Linked DNA regions of Homo sapiens: regions 1, 3, 4 and 5 are each linked to region 2. The links are contacts of gene promoters, found by promoter capture Hi-C in blood cells and fetal thymus (Javierre and others, 2016). All regions are on one chromosome and are shown on one strand. Each heading gives the region's core, a stretch centred on a gene start or on the middle of the fragment in contact. The rest is flanking DNA. Distances are from core to core; before and after follow the strand shown. Region 1 has its middle 22 kb from the start of BTG3. Region 2 holds the start of C21orf91-OT1 (C21orf91 overlapping transcript 1). Region 3 has its middle 20 kb from the start of BTG3-AS1. Region 4 has its middle 37 kb from the start of LINC03147. Region 5 has its middle 39 kb from the start of BTG3.

Evidence for each region. Contacts are between HindIII fragments. The CHiCAGO score rates a contact against its expected background, and 5 or more counts as called.
Region 1: a contact is called between a fragment that was not itself captured here and the fragment with the promoter of C21orf91-OT1 in region 2, in 2 of 17 cell types (activated CD4 T cells and naive CD4 T cells). The highest score is 5.9, in activated CD4 T cells.
Region 3: a fragment that was not itself captured here is called in contact with the fragment with the promoter of C21orf91-OT1 in region 2 in 6 of 17 cell types (naive B cells, activated CD4 T cells, total CD4 T cells and 3 more); the score reaches 5.7 in naive B cells.
Region 4: a contact is called between a fragment that was not itself captured here and the fragment with the promoter of C21orf91-OT1 in region 2, in 3 of 17 cell types (activated CD4 T cells, naive CD8 T cells and total CD8 T cells). The highest score is 6.4, in activated CD4 T cells.
Region 5: a fragment that was not itself captured here is called in contact with the fragment with the promoter of C21orf91-OT1 in region 2 in 1 of 17 cell types (activated CD4 T cells); the score reaches 6.0 in activated CD4 T cells.

The regions. Positions count from the first base shown.
Region 1 is chr21:17,633,518-17,636,217 of GRCh38, forward strand. It overlaps a transcript of CXADR not described here. Among named protein-coding and RNA genes, the nearest start is that of BTG3, 22 kb to the left of the region's middle. The HindIII fragment of the contact is 1,487 bases long and covers 549-2,035 here.
Region 2 is chr21:17,791,059-17,793,758 of GRCh38, forward strand. It overlaps C21orf91-OT1 (C21orf91 overlapping transcript 1), which reads right to left and starts at 1,451. Exons shown (of 4, transcript NR_038871.1): 1 at 1,419-1,451. It overlaps C21orf91 (chromosome 21 open reading frame 91), which reads right to left. Exons shown (of 5, transcript NM_001100420.2): 5 at 1-2,523. The coding sequence ends at 2,357. All of the region lies in intron 2 of LOC124900465 (a long non-coding RNA gene), which reads left to right. The HindIII fragment of the contact is 3,892 bases long and covers 1-2,700 here.
Region 3 is chr21:17,590,502-17,593,201 of GRCh38, forward strand. It overlaps a transcript of CXADR not described here. Among named protein-coding and RNA genes, the nearest start is that of BTG3-AS1, 20 kb to the right of the region's middle. The HindIII fragment of the contact is 5,720 bases long and covers 1-2,700 here.
Region 4 is chr21:17,921,174-17,923,873 of GRCh38, forward strand. It overlaps a transcript of CHODL not described here. Among named protein-coding and RNA genes, the nearest start is that of LINC03147, 37 kb to the left of the region's middle. The HindIII fragment of the contact is 1,574 bases long and covers 486-2,059 here.
Region 5 is chr21:17,650,555-17,653,254 of GRCh38, forward strand. No RefSeq gene overlaps it. Among named protein-coding and RNA genes, the nearest start is that of BTG3, 39 kb to the left of the region's middle. The HindIII fragment of the contact is 693 bases long and covers 966-1,658 here.

The DNA of each region.
Region 1 (2,700 bases), core at 42-2,541, 160 kb before region 2:
GCACTTCAGCCAGGGCAACAAAGCAAGACCCCTCAAAAAAAATTAAAAGAAAAGATTGTCCCCACATAGTCCCAGACACACTTTTCATCTATTCTTCTGAGGAATGGTGCCTGAGAGACTTTATCTGCGTAATTAGACAGCCTTTGTTCACAGTGCAATTCTGCCACTAAACTTCTCATAAATTGTCACCATCTCTCTCAGAGCCCAGACTAACTTTGTCCCAGGCTATTGTCTGTTCTTTGAGCCAATTCATCTCCCCTAAAAATTATCTATTCTTCCTCTAAAATTACCTACATCCCCTCCTTCCCTCTGCCTTATGAAGAAGGTATTTAACCTTCAATAATCTGGCCCTTCTTTGAGTTTTATACTTTGTCTGACTCCCATGTGCTTGTACATTTATAAATTTGTATGCCTGTTCTCCCATTAATCTGTCTATTGTAAGTTTGTTTATAGATTCGAATTCTCAAACCTTCAGGAGGTGAAAAGAAAGTTCCTTTTGCCCTTACAACAACGTGAGACTAGCTCTGAAGTTTTCATTAGCTATGTGAAGCTTATATCTCAGAATAGCCTCACATACACTGGTAAAGATTAGCAGGTCATTTGGGCTGATGGCATAGTCTGGAATAACAGAGGAGGAAATAAAATTTTAAAAGCTCATGAACCCAAGAGTATGATCTTCAGAGGAGAGATTTCCTATCTCTTAAATTCTACGTAAATAGTGAAGTCCTATATGGGGGGGATCCTTCATCTGGGGCCTACCTTGGGCAGAATAATGTAGTTGTACCTCATTCTATCATAGCTAAAAGACAAAGTACTTTTTAAGACTTTGCAAAATTTTGTTCATGTTGCGTATCTTTTTAAAGTCTGACTCTCTGCACTAAAATAGGATAGCCTAAACAGGGCTCTTTTCGGAGTAAAATTATTATGAGCCCAGTAGTTTTCCCAGTAAGTAAGCTATCAGAACTTACAAAAATATGAGACAGAGCTTTGCAGATGTAGCTAGAGAAAGGTCAGTTGGTGGACTTGAACTTGTTTTTAGTTTATTTATGTATTCTCCAATACTCTAGACTGTTCTAGAAATCACTAGAGAGAAATAATGGTGGTATTCCATGCCTATGATACATCACAGACTACATTTGGAGGACTGCAGAAAGAAGCAAAAACAGAAGTTTCCATAATGAGTGGTAGAGATGTGCTAAATGTCTTCTTTTTCAAACTTTAATTTTTAATTTTTAATTTTTTTTAGAGATGTGATATTGCTATATTGCCCAGGCTATAGTGCAGTGACTATTCACAGGTGCAGTCATAGTACACTGCAACCCTGAACTCCTGGGCTCCAGCAATCCTCCTGCCTAAGCATCCTGAGTAGTTAGAACTACAGGTGCATGCCACAATACTGGGCTTAATGCCTTCTTTACTGATCCTTGATGGTAAAGGGGAAGACCATTTTAGAACCTTTGATTCCTTGGACATAATCCCATGGTACTGCTCTTTAATAAAGATAAATTATAAGGAATTGGATTCTATAGGGAAGAAATGGATGGAAGTTGTAACAAAATGTAATAGTAATGAAATATTAATAGAAAGGCCTAAATAGAATCTGTGGCATAACTCTCAAAATAGTCCTTTAATAACCTCCTTTTGAAAATATCAAGGTTAAGACCTAGAGACGTAAAGTCCTGCCCAAAGTCAATTGTCTGGTTAGTGGCACACAGAGCACTAAAGTTTACATCAGCAGGTTCCCAGTTCAGTACATCTTCTAGAGCTTCTAAAAATTAATGTGAAGATAGTCTTTGCTCTATTGAAGCATAATTATAAACATCAAATATTTGTAAAATATCTTCTATATAGTAGGATGTTTTTCCTTTTATTTATTAGTAAATTTACCACAATATTAATTTAGTTAGTAAATTAGAATTTTTCTTTCCCATTCATCATTTATGTCACCAGCAGGTAATCCTACTCCATCCTCCCACCACATCTCATTTCATTATCACCTGGCCTCCAGAGGGTGGAATCACTTGGGCACTGCTCAAGCTTATGAGATCTTAAAATTTATTTTTAAAATATTTCAAATCAAAAAGTTTTTGAGCTGTGAAATTTAATAAGATATTGAGCTTTCTTCTAGCCTTTTATCCACTAATTCTACTCTTAGAAATTACTTCCTAAAAAAATACTTTTTAAGAAAACCACACACACACAAAATGTCCTCTAACTTTGTTCTTTTTTCTTCCAAGTTGTTTTGTCTGTTCTAGATCTTCTGCACTTTAATTTAAACTTTAGAGTCAGCTTGCTACTTCTACAAAGTAGCTGGCTGGGATTTCTATTAGAATGCCTTGAATATACAGATCAATTTGGAAGAAATGACGTCTTAACAATATAGAGTCATCTAATCTAGGAATATGGTATATTTCTTAATTGACTTAGGTCTTCTTTAACATTTAATTTTACTCAGCAATGTTTTATAGTTTTCAGTGTACAGGTCTTGAACATCTTTTGTCGAATTTATCCTTAAGTATTTTACAGTTTTGATGCCACTGTACATGGCAAACTTTAATTTTAATTTCTGATTGTTTATTGCTAATATAAAGAAATGCAATTGGTTTTTGATATTGACTTTGTACCCTGCCACTGAACTAAACTCACTTTCAGTTTTAACAGCTTATTTGCAGATTCTTTAGGGTTTTTTGATAGATGACA
Region 2 (2,700 bases), core at 201-2,700:
CATGTTCTCTTGTTAGAACTCAACTCTGTACCTGATACTTATATTTGCATACACAGTAATTGCATATTTGATTAAGAAAACTAACATAGGACTAAATTATAAGTTTACCAAACATTTGGATAAACTGCTGTGCAAAATACTTCAACAAAAAGTTTTTTTTACTAGGAACTCATCCAAATAAAGTAGTGTGAGTACCAGCACCACAAAGTTTTTTTTAAGAGCACCTCTCCTTTTTAGAGCTTAAGTAGAAATATCTAAATGGAATAAATCAGAGTCCCACTTAAGACCTTAGCACATGCACACGTTCATCCACTTGTTCCGTACTCATTAGCAAAGCTATGTATATTTGTCAGAAAACTCCTTTCTTTGGATAACACTGTTGTATTCAGGACTGCAACTTATGGCTCATATTCTGGAAATATGCTACTATTGATATCAAATGCAACATATCCCCAACTTTTATGACTGTCCCTAACTCATCTAAACACAAACCCAAATGTGTGCAAACACACTGGCTGGTAACAATCTTACTGAATTACGCCAAAAAAGAGTAAAGTCAAATTTGAAAATGTGGGAACAATTAAGCACTAAGATATTAATCAGGAAATGTATTTACCCAGCTTGTAAGTTTGAATATTTTGATATTGCACACATTTAATTTAAAGCTCATCAAAACTAAGGCAATGCATCCATACTCCCTGGATTTTAAATTCATTTTGCATGACTTAAAGAATTGAGAGAAATCGAAAGCATCTTTCAAAAATTCCCTCCAAAAAGTAATGTTATACTTCAAAGAAAAACAAAATCAACAGATATCAATTAATACCCTCAGGCCAATTTAACACGTCAGCATTACAAAAAGTTGTTTTCAATTAAACTGAAGTGTTTCTTTGCTTAAATACTTTCTTGTGTTCAACAACAAAATCTGACCCAAGCCAGGGTAGGCTGCCAAATTTAAGGCAAATGTCATTTATATCTTTATGCATGAAGCTGCCACGTTACTGGGCTTTTCAGCAGATACTTTCAAGCAAGGATCTACCTCATAAGTACATTCTAAACATGAGTTAAAAACAGAATTTAGAGCCCATTTTAATTCTGCATTGGTTATAGCCTTTACTGTAATACATTATTAAAATTTATCTAGCTGTTTGGCACAATCTGTTAGATAAAAACTCTTTGGAAGCATCATAGGCAACTTACGAGAACATTCTCTTAATACATAGGTTTATTTTTTTTTAATTAGGAGTTTTGCTTTTCTTCTGTAGAACAATCCTATATTTCTCTATAGAGTCTAAAGTTTAGAAAAATACCTCACAATGCTTTCTTTGAGCACTAAGTTCAATGATGGTGATAATACAATTTGGACAGTTTAAGTATTCTTGAAACTTTACCCAAAGTGGCACACAAAATAATCTTACTTTTTTTTTTCAAAGACAGAACAATTTCACAGCACACTCAATTTGAAGATAGACATTATATTTGAATTGGAAGTGAGGCTTGACTTACTCTGTCCAAATTCTAATGCATCACAGTCACTGGTGTGAAGCTAATAATGAAAGAAGCAAGAGGAGGCTTTCATTTCTATGGAGACAAATTGACATAGAAGCCAGATTAGTCTTTTCTTCCTGAACTAAGAACTGCTTTTGTTAGAAAACAAAATAATGTATTGTATTTACCTGAATACTGCTTTAAAAAGTTATTAATTCTTCTTTTACAAGAGGTATTAGAAATTAAAACAACTCAGATTTCTAATCCAAAATATATTTATCTTTGGAAAGCAAGGTAACCGTTGTGAAAACATTGTATTAAGAGAATAAAATGCAGTGACCTGAAATATGGGTGAACATATTCACACATGATAATGTAAATAAATATACAGAACCACTCAAATACACATTTATAAAGAGAATGGCAAAGTACCTAAAATAGCATTTTCACATATAAAATTTTTATATTAAAATATTGCTCATAATAAATAAGAGGTGATATGAATTCCATTTCCCTCTTAAAAATTATCTCTAGTAGTTTACACTAAGGAGTTAATCTGTTGTTTTGACAGGTGAATTAAAATGTTTAATAAAATGACACTGTAACAGTATATTTAAGTAGTCACATGTGATAAAATTTGTTTAGTAATTCTGGGAAAAAAGAGTCCCCAAATGAGCCAAAATGATTAGCCCTAGAAGACTAGAGTATAATGATCTGCTTTATTTGACAAAGATGTTAAATACTGCCTTATGTTTGGCAAATTTAATGACCATAAAAAAACGGACCACAACTTTCTTCAAACTTCTTCAAAGTTTGCATGTCTGGGAGACCAATAAAGGGCAGGGCATACGAAGTAAGTCTGTTTAGGTCAGTTGTTTATGGGTAGGTGCGACTTCATTCCTGTTCGCCCTACTTGCAGACATGGTAACTTAGAACAGTTCTTCAGAAGCTGTTCGATGGCAACGTGGCGGACATGGAGCTGTGAGGCCAAAGAATCTTTTTCTTGCACTTGGTGAGTTAACTCTTCAAAAACTTCTGTAAAAGATTTAAAAACTTTCATTTTTAGTATGCAGAAAGCCGGTGCTATGATTTATATTTCAAGAACTCTAACTGAAATCTATGCATTGGGCAAAGTGTCACAATGAAACTGATTTGATACCAAGGAAACAGTTCTGTTCTCTACAAAGCATATCAGTTCTGATCATCCTAGGC
Region 3 (2,700 bases), core at 5-2,504, 200 kb before region 2:
CATATTTTAAAGAGGAATTGCATGAGCCTTCCCTTGTGCTCATGAGTGCTTGTGTGACAACTTCGCAGTACGAGTCAATGCCATAAAGTGCCATATGCAATGCAGGGATATTGTTGTGTTTCCGTAAGAGCCTCACAATGTTATTGCTTCATCCATTGCAATAGATTCCAGAGTATATGAAGAAATTTGGCACAAAGTTTACTAACGTTGTACACTCTGTTAAATTGCCAAGTAACTGATAAGTAAGAAAAAAAAGTTAAAGACTGTGACAGACTTGGGAATTACTACTCATTATGTGTGATCTTTCCATGTAACAAGTCATTGGTACAGTTTGCTTTGTCATCTCAGTCTTCACTCTACTGGGTTGTACTGTTTATTGCAATTTAATTTCTATTTCCAGCAATAAAATTACTATCAGATGATCAGCCAGCTCCCTCTTCAGATATATCTGAGTAGTTTGTAACAAGAAACTTGGCCAAAGATTTATTAGTGGTTAATCAATAGATACTTTAATGTCTTATATTCTCATTAATTTACCTTCGCACTGGTTCCTTTTTTTAAAAAAAATCTTGGTCTGATAATGAACCTTCTTACAAGTTTCAAGATTTGGTAGATTTTATAGGTAACAAAATGAATCTGATGGCAAGGTACCATGGCATGGGCCTTAAAAAAGCCCAGCTGGGTTTTAAGTCAGAGCTTCATTATTTAGTTTTCTGTGATCTTGGGCATTTTTAACTTCTCTGGAATCCTTATCTAACTGGGATGATAATGGTACATACCCCCTGAGGCTGTGATGATTAAATAAGTTGTTGCCATGTAGTAATAAAAATTAAAAAAATTATTTACTATTATCTGTAAAATGGACAGAATGGCTACACAATAAACTGTACATGGTAGGTGTTTGTATTTTTCCCTCTTCCTAATCATAAAATAAGAAATTAACACATACCTCTGTTAGCTGAGAAGTCAACATAAATGCTTTATTATCTTAACTTGGAACCACAGAAGTTTACTAAAAAGTTAAATACTTTGAGATAAATATTATACTAATAAACCAGAAATAAGCACTGCTTTAGTATTAATGTGATAGAACTTACTAAAACTTTTTTTTTCAAATATCCAAGTTTAACCTATAAAATTTAGAGCTTTGCAGTTATGCCTACAAATACAAAAATAAAATGGAGAATTTAAACAAATTATTGTTCAGTGATAAACCACTCCTGCTTGAAATAGCCCGATAAGGCTTTCAAGCTGAAATTATGTAGTCATGTTTTAAGAGCCACCTTGGAGTTGTCTAAGGGAGACAAACTTAAGAGAACAAAGCACCTAGAGTCATAATTACTACTAAAAAAGGGTTTGGCAAACTTTTGTACCCCATGCTTGCTAGAACTTAAGACCCAGTTGCTGAGTGACAGTTTTATTTCATTAGGAATAGATTGGAAAAGCCATATTTATGAGAGCTTTCTTTTGCTCTAAATAAGTTTCAGGACAAGGTGGAGGATGGGTAGTCGAAACACTGGCAGAATCTTCTATGAGTAATAACATCTACCTGTATGCAGTTGAATTCAAAACTAGTGGTTTCCCCAAGAGGCCCTGTCATTTAATCGTCAGAACTAATTAAGGAGATTTTGTAGTAACGTGGAATGTTCTGGCTACTAGGTATGTGCCAAAAATAACACTTCCTTCTTTACACTATTATGCTTCTGATTTTCCCAACAAACCTATATAGTCATCCCTCAGTATCCTTGGAGGATTTGTTCCAGGACCCTCCTGGATACCAAAATCCTCAGATGCTCAAGTGCCTTATATAAAATGGCTTCGTATTTGCATATAACCTATGTACATCCTTTAAATCTAGATAATACCTAATGCAATGTAGTTATATTTTAAAATTTGTATTTTTTTAATTTTTGAGTATTTTCCATACATGGTTAAATACAGATGAAAAACCTACAGATGAGGACCAATTTGCTCATAAGCAAAGCAATAAATAAATTCTGTCTGCTAACTTCATGATAAAAATACTTGAAACTTTCCAACTTTACGCCAATCACCTACAAATCTGTCATTATCACCACAAAACTCTCAAGGACCCATAAGGAAGCAGTGTGATGACTCTGAAAGTAATTTTTTTTTCCTTTTTTTCTTTCAATAACTTTGGTTAAAAAAAATTGATAAAACGCATCTCCCTTGTGACACTAATAAACAAACATGCTCATGTTTGAATAGGCAGTCACTAGATTTCAGGAAAAGAGTAGATATGGTTTAGAGAGATGTTAAAATTGTGTATGGCTTAAAGAGTACAATATTAAAGCTAGAAAAGTCTCTAAGGTTTAAAAATGAGTTTTCTGAAGTTGCAAACTTTAAAAACTGACATTTTCATACTATTGAGCTATACCTTTATGATTTGTGCAGTTTTGTATTTCAACAGAATTTATCTTCCTAAAAATAACAATAATTTGTGGAATAGCCATGGCCATTCAATGATTTATTAGCAAGTTGTGATTTTTCTGGTAAGTCAAATAATTTAAGACTGCAAATTTAAAGATGAAGGTGATGGAAAAAGTATTGCTGATCTTAGTTTTTAAAAATTTACCTTTGGAGAAAAATCAAAACTCTTATAGAGATATCTCTTTTTTTCTTTTTGTAGTTCAAGTACCCTTACAAGACTGATGGAATTACAGTTGTATAAATATGGAC
Region 4 (2,700 bases), core at 23-2,522, 130 kb after region 2:
AGGCTCAGGAGAGTCTATGATGCCAATGAAATGTGAAGGTAGTTTGCTGAAGAATTCCCTCTTGCTTGAGGAGGCTGGTCTTTTTGTTCTATTCAGGCCTTCAACTGATCGGATGAGCCTCATCTATATTATGGAGGGCAATCTTCTTTATGCAAAGTTCACTGTTTTAAATGTTAATGCCATTCAGAAACATCATCTAAGTTAACACATAAAATTAACCACCAAGGGTGTGTTGGGCAGAAGTGATGTGTGCCCCTTATAGGCAGGGGGTCTAACCCTCTTGTGTACAATCTTCCATGCTTTCTTCCTTTGCTACTTGGCAGGTGAGAGGTACAGTATCTAGAATAGGATGTAAACTCTAGGGGGATGAAGGAGCCACTAGGAAGAAGGAAGCAAGTCCTTAAAAGATTAGGTGGAATAGACATTTATCCACCTTTGTCTCTCATTGAATTGAGACGTGTGAGAAATAGGCAGATGTTGTGTTAAGCTTTGGGACTTAGGGGTTGTTTATTACAGCAGTTAGTATATCCTGACTGATGAATCATTCTGGCAGCAGGGAGGGCAATGTGTTGACACAGGTTAAGGCTACAGTCAGGAAGGCCAGCTAGGAATTTTTGGTACAAGTCCAGGCAAGAGATAATGCTGAGCTGGACTAGGTTGATGCAGCATGTGGACAGCAGATGTTTAAATTAATCATACTGTGAGTAGTAATAAGCATTTAGTGCTTTACCAAATTATCTCAGTGAACACTCCAAATTTCTATTTTTTCCAAGAAAAAGAATAAATTGACAGATTGTCCAGATTTATTCCACAATAAAGGAAAGTTATGAAATATGATGCTATTTCTGGTTTCTTATTTACAGTTAAGTTCATGTTCAACTTAACCAAAAGAATCTTAGGGAAAGTTGAAGTGATAATGCTTAATTAGGAGGTACATGGCAGTACAGTTAGAGTGAAGAAAAGAAGAAGTGAGACAGAGAAGTCTAAGAAGCAAATTCAAGGTGATATACCAAGTGGGCCACTGCTTATGGCTCTAAAAAAAAAAAAACACTGTACCTCAGAACAACCCAACAGATGGAAAATTGTGGGGGAAATTTATCTGTGAGCTCACTCATGTCTCCTGTCTCCTGTTGGCTAAAGGTCATTCCAGAGAAAATTTACAACATTGTTCCACTGCTTTAGAGGTGGAGCGAGGCCCAGAGATTCTGGATGTCTGGACAGCCTAGTATGACTTGCTGTGGCTGCAATTACTACAGAGAAAGCAGCCAATGGCCCACAAAATAGATGAGGCTGAAGAATCAGAGGAGACACTCAAGATGGGTTGATAAATCTGGTTTGGAACTCATCAGTGGTAGCTCTGATAAGGTTGTTAGCACACTTATCTATGAAGTACTTTAATTAAATAAAGGGTTATTTAATTGCCCATGTAGTGTGATAGTATTACTGCTATTTATGTGGAAATTAAACACAATAACAACAGCAATGTTTTACATTAGATTTCAGGAATGTGGGGTGACATTCCTTATGAGGTCTTAGCTTTAAGTTTATTCTTTTACTGAATGCACTGAGATGTAGCTCCTAAAGGTTGCGAACTCTGAATATCTGAGACAGGTCTCAGTTAATTTAGAGAGTTTATTTTGCCAAGTTTGAGGACATGCAGCCGTGACAGCCTCAGGAGTCCTGAAGACACGTGCCCAAGGTGGTCAGAGCACAGCTTGCTTTTATTCATTTTAGGGAGACGGGAGACATCAGTCAACATATGAAAGATGAACATTGGTTCCTTCTGGAAAAGTGGGACAATTGGAAGCAAAGGTGGGACAACTTCAAGCAGGGAGGGGACTTCCAGCTCATAGGTAGATAAGAAACAAATGGTTACATTCTTTTGAGTTTCTGATTAGCCCCTCCAAAGAAGGCAATGAGATATGCATTTATCTCAGTGAGCAGGGGTGGGGGTTGGCTTTGAATAGAATGGGAGGCAGGTTTGCCCTAAGTAGTCCCAGCTTGACTTTTCCCTTTAGCTTAGTGATTTGGGGGCCTCAAGATTTATTTTCCTTTCACAAGCTTTTCCATTATTTACAGCAGACTTTGTCTTTTTCTGCCTCTTTTTTTTTTTCCTGCCAAAGTCTGCATTATCACCATAAATGCTGACAACTGCCCTATGAGGTAGGTGTAAGCATGGGCTCAATTTTACAGATTTGTAAAATAAATTAAAAAAAGTAAAAAGATGTTAACAACTTTCCCACAAGATCTCAGAGGACATTTTATATAACATTTTCCCTAATTCTTCAGTTTTTTTTTTTTTTTTTGAGACGAAGTCTCGCATTGTTGCCCAGGCTGGAGTGTGGGGTCACAATCTCGGCTCACTGCAACCTCCGCCTCCTGGGTTCAAGCAATTCTCCTGCCTCAGCCTCTGGAGTAGCTGGGACTACAGGTGCCCGCCACTATGTCCAGCTAATTTTTTGTATTTTTAGTAGAGACGGGGTTTCACCATGTTGGTCAGGCTGGTCTCAAACTCCTGACCTCGTGATTCGCCCACCTCAGCCTCCCAAAGTACTGGGATTACAGGCCTGAGCCACTGTGCCTGGCCAGTTCTTCAGTTTTATACAAGTCCCAAAGGCCAGGAACAAAATACTTGTTCTTAAGTAGCCCTATAATTTAGAAAAGGTGCCAAACTACTCATGTGGAACTAGAAAGATGGCA
Region 5 (2,700 bases), core at 62-2,561, 140 kb before region 2:
AATAGCAGAAGACTAGAGGATGAGACAGGTTCTCTTAATGGAAGTTAACTTTTTTTACAGTGAAAATCTCCTTTTCTCACAGACATTCATTCAACTGCATATGTTATAAATATAATTATATACATACCTGCTTATTTATGTTTATATACATATGTATATGTGTATTTAAATTGGAGTATATAAATATATGTATGTATTTTTTTTAATTGACAAATCATAATTGTATACATTCATGGGGCACCATGTTATGTTTTATGTATCTATACAATATGAAGTGACTAAATCTAGCTAATTAACATATCCATCACCTCACTTACTTATAATTTTTTTTTGTGGTGAGACATTTGAAATTTACTCTAAGTTATTTTGGAATATACTATACAATACTGACTGTAGTTACTCTGCCGTGCAATAGATTTCGAAACTTATTTCTCCTAATCATACATTTGTGCCCTTTGACCACCAACTCCCCATTCCCTGCCCCCACAAAATATAGGAAGTTATACATCTTTTTGTTTTCCTCCACAGATACGTGTTTCGTTTTCACTGCTCAAAGGTATTTTCCCCCTTCCCATTCCAAGAAAATAGCCACGCCATTGTGTTCCAGGGGCTTTGGATGGTCGAATGGAAAGCAGGTGTTCCCCAAGAACAGCTTCATTCCATTTTTGTTTTGTTTTGTTTGGATGATTAGACCTACTGCAGGGATTATGCCACATCACGTAGAGTGGAGGAAAAGAAAGATGAGGTCTTCTAGGGGGTGCTGGGAGGTGGAGGCAGAATTGACTTCAGGTAGCAAATTCCTCGAGACAAGAAGGAAGGGAGTTTGGGTGGTTTGCAAAGAAAGTAGCCCCCAGGTCCTGCTTGTTAACTCCTAGTTGGGTGGATTGCCTCAGGACAAAGGGAAGACCTCTAGGAGCCCTGGTCTCAGGAACTGCCTTGATAGAGAAGTCAGAGACCTTTGTCCAAGCTTATCGGTGAGTACCACTTCCCTCAGGGACTAGATCATGAGAGCCTGGACAATAAGCATATCAGTGAGGACCAGTGGAGGCCATACACCTTTCTTTCAGGATTTAGGACCTAAGAAGACATCTCTACTCCCGATTTCTGTGTCACCTGGAAGTGGAATTGGAGGAGGGAAGTCCAGAAATGATTAAAATGCAATTTCCTACTTGCTGACGCAGCTCAATTTGATTTAAACAAAATTTGTGATACTTCTTTTTCTCAGAGCTAAGGTGAAATTTTCACTGCTTTTTCTTTCCCTTACCATTTGTTCATCTGCAAAATGGTGATTATTGTACTCACCTTGCAGAGTTGTTTCTAGCATTTAATCAAATGACCTGTGTAGAGTGACTATATCACCACCATAATAGAAGGTGCTCAATAAATTGTCACTAGGAAATATTCACATTATATGTGTTCATAGTGTTGCAAAAATGGAATCAGGTGCTAGGTTTTTAAAGCACAAGACATACTTCTAGTTTTCAAGAATTTTATATTATAATTATAAAGCTATCTAGAAGTACTAGGTTCATATCTCTAAGCAAGAAATACAGGCAGGTGAATCATGGGAAATTGAATTCCATTCAATTTCATAAAAGTAAATTGAATGGAAGAATTTGGAGGCAGAAGTCATGATGTAAGACAGAAAACCTATGGGAAGCTTAAGAGAGAAGATAGCAACACTAAAGGTGAAAGGAATTTGTCTGTGATGCTATCATTAGAAAATCTCATAAACAGAGAGAAAGAAAATCTTCTCCAACACACAACATTTGGACAGCAGGTTTAGATTTTCTTCATCTTTTTTCTCTTCAATTTTTTTCCACTGCAACGATAAGCTAAGAGATTGATTTTATTTCAAGAATAACTAAGGGTATACTAATATGCATATCTCAAAATAACATTGCATTATTGAAGACATACTGTTCCAATAGTCAAACAGTTAACAGAGAGGGGACAGGAACCAACAAACTGGAAAAACACACCTGTATTATACATAAAAATCAGTGGCCAATATTTCTCCAGTTATTCTCAAAAGAAAAATACTCAGCAAGTTACAAACTGAAAAGCTTTGCTTAAAAGCTAAACAAAACAAAACAAACCTTCCATGTATAAGAAAAGCTCAGCCCCTTAAAAACGAGACTGTTGGTGGGAGTTGAACCGTTGTGGAAGACAGTGTGGCAATTCCTCAAGGATCTAGAACCAGAAATGCCATTTGACCCAGAAATCCCATTACCGGGTATATACCCAAAGGATTATAAATCATTCTACTATAAAGACACATGCACACGCATGTTTATTGCAGCACTATTCACCATAGAAAAGACTTGGACCCAACCCAAATGCCCATGAATGATAGACTGGATAAAAAAAATGTGGCACATATACACCATGGAATATTATGCAGCCATAAAAAAGGATGAGTTCATGTCCTTTGCAGGGACATGGATAAAGCTTAGCATCATCCTTAGCAAACTAACAAGGAACAGAAAACCAAACGCTGCATGTTGTCACTCATAAGTGGGAGTTGAACAATGAGAGCACACGGACACAGGGAGGGGAACATCACACACTGGGGCCTGTCAGGGGCTTGGGGGAAAGGGGAGGGATAGCATTAGGAGAAATACCTAATGTATATGATGGGTTGATGGGTGCAGCAAATCACCATGGCATGTGTATACCTATGTAACAAACCTGCACGTT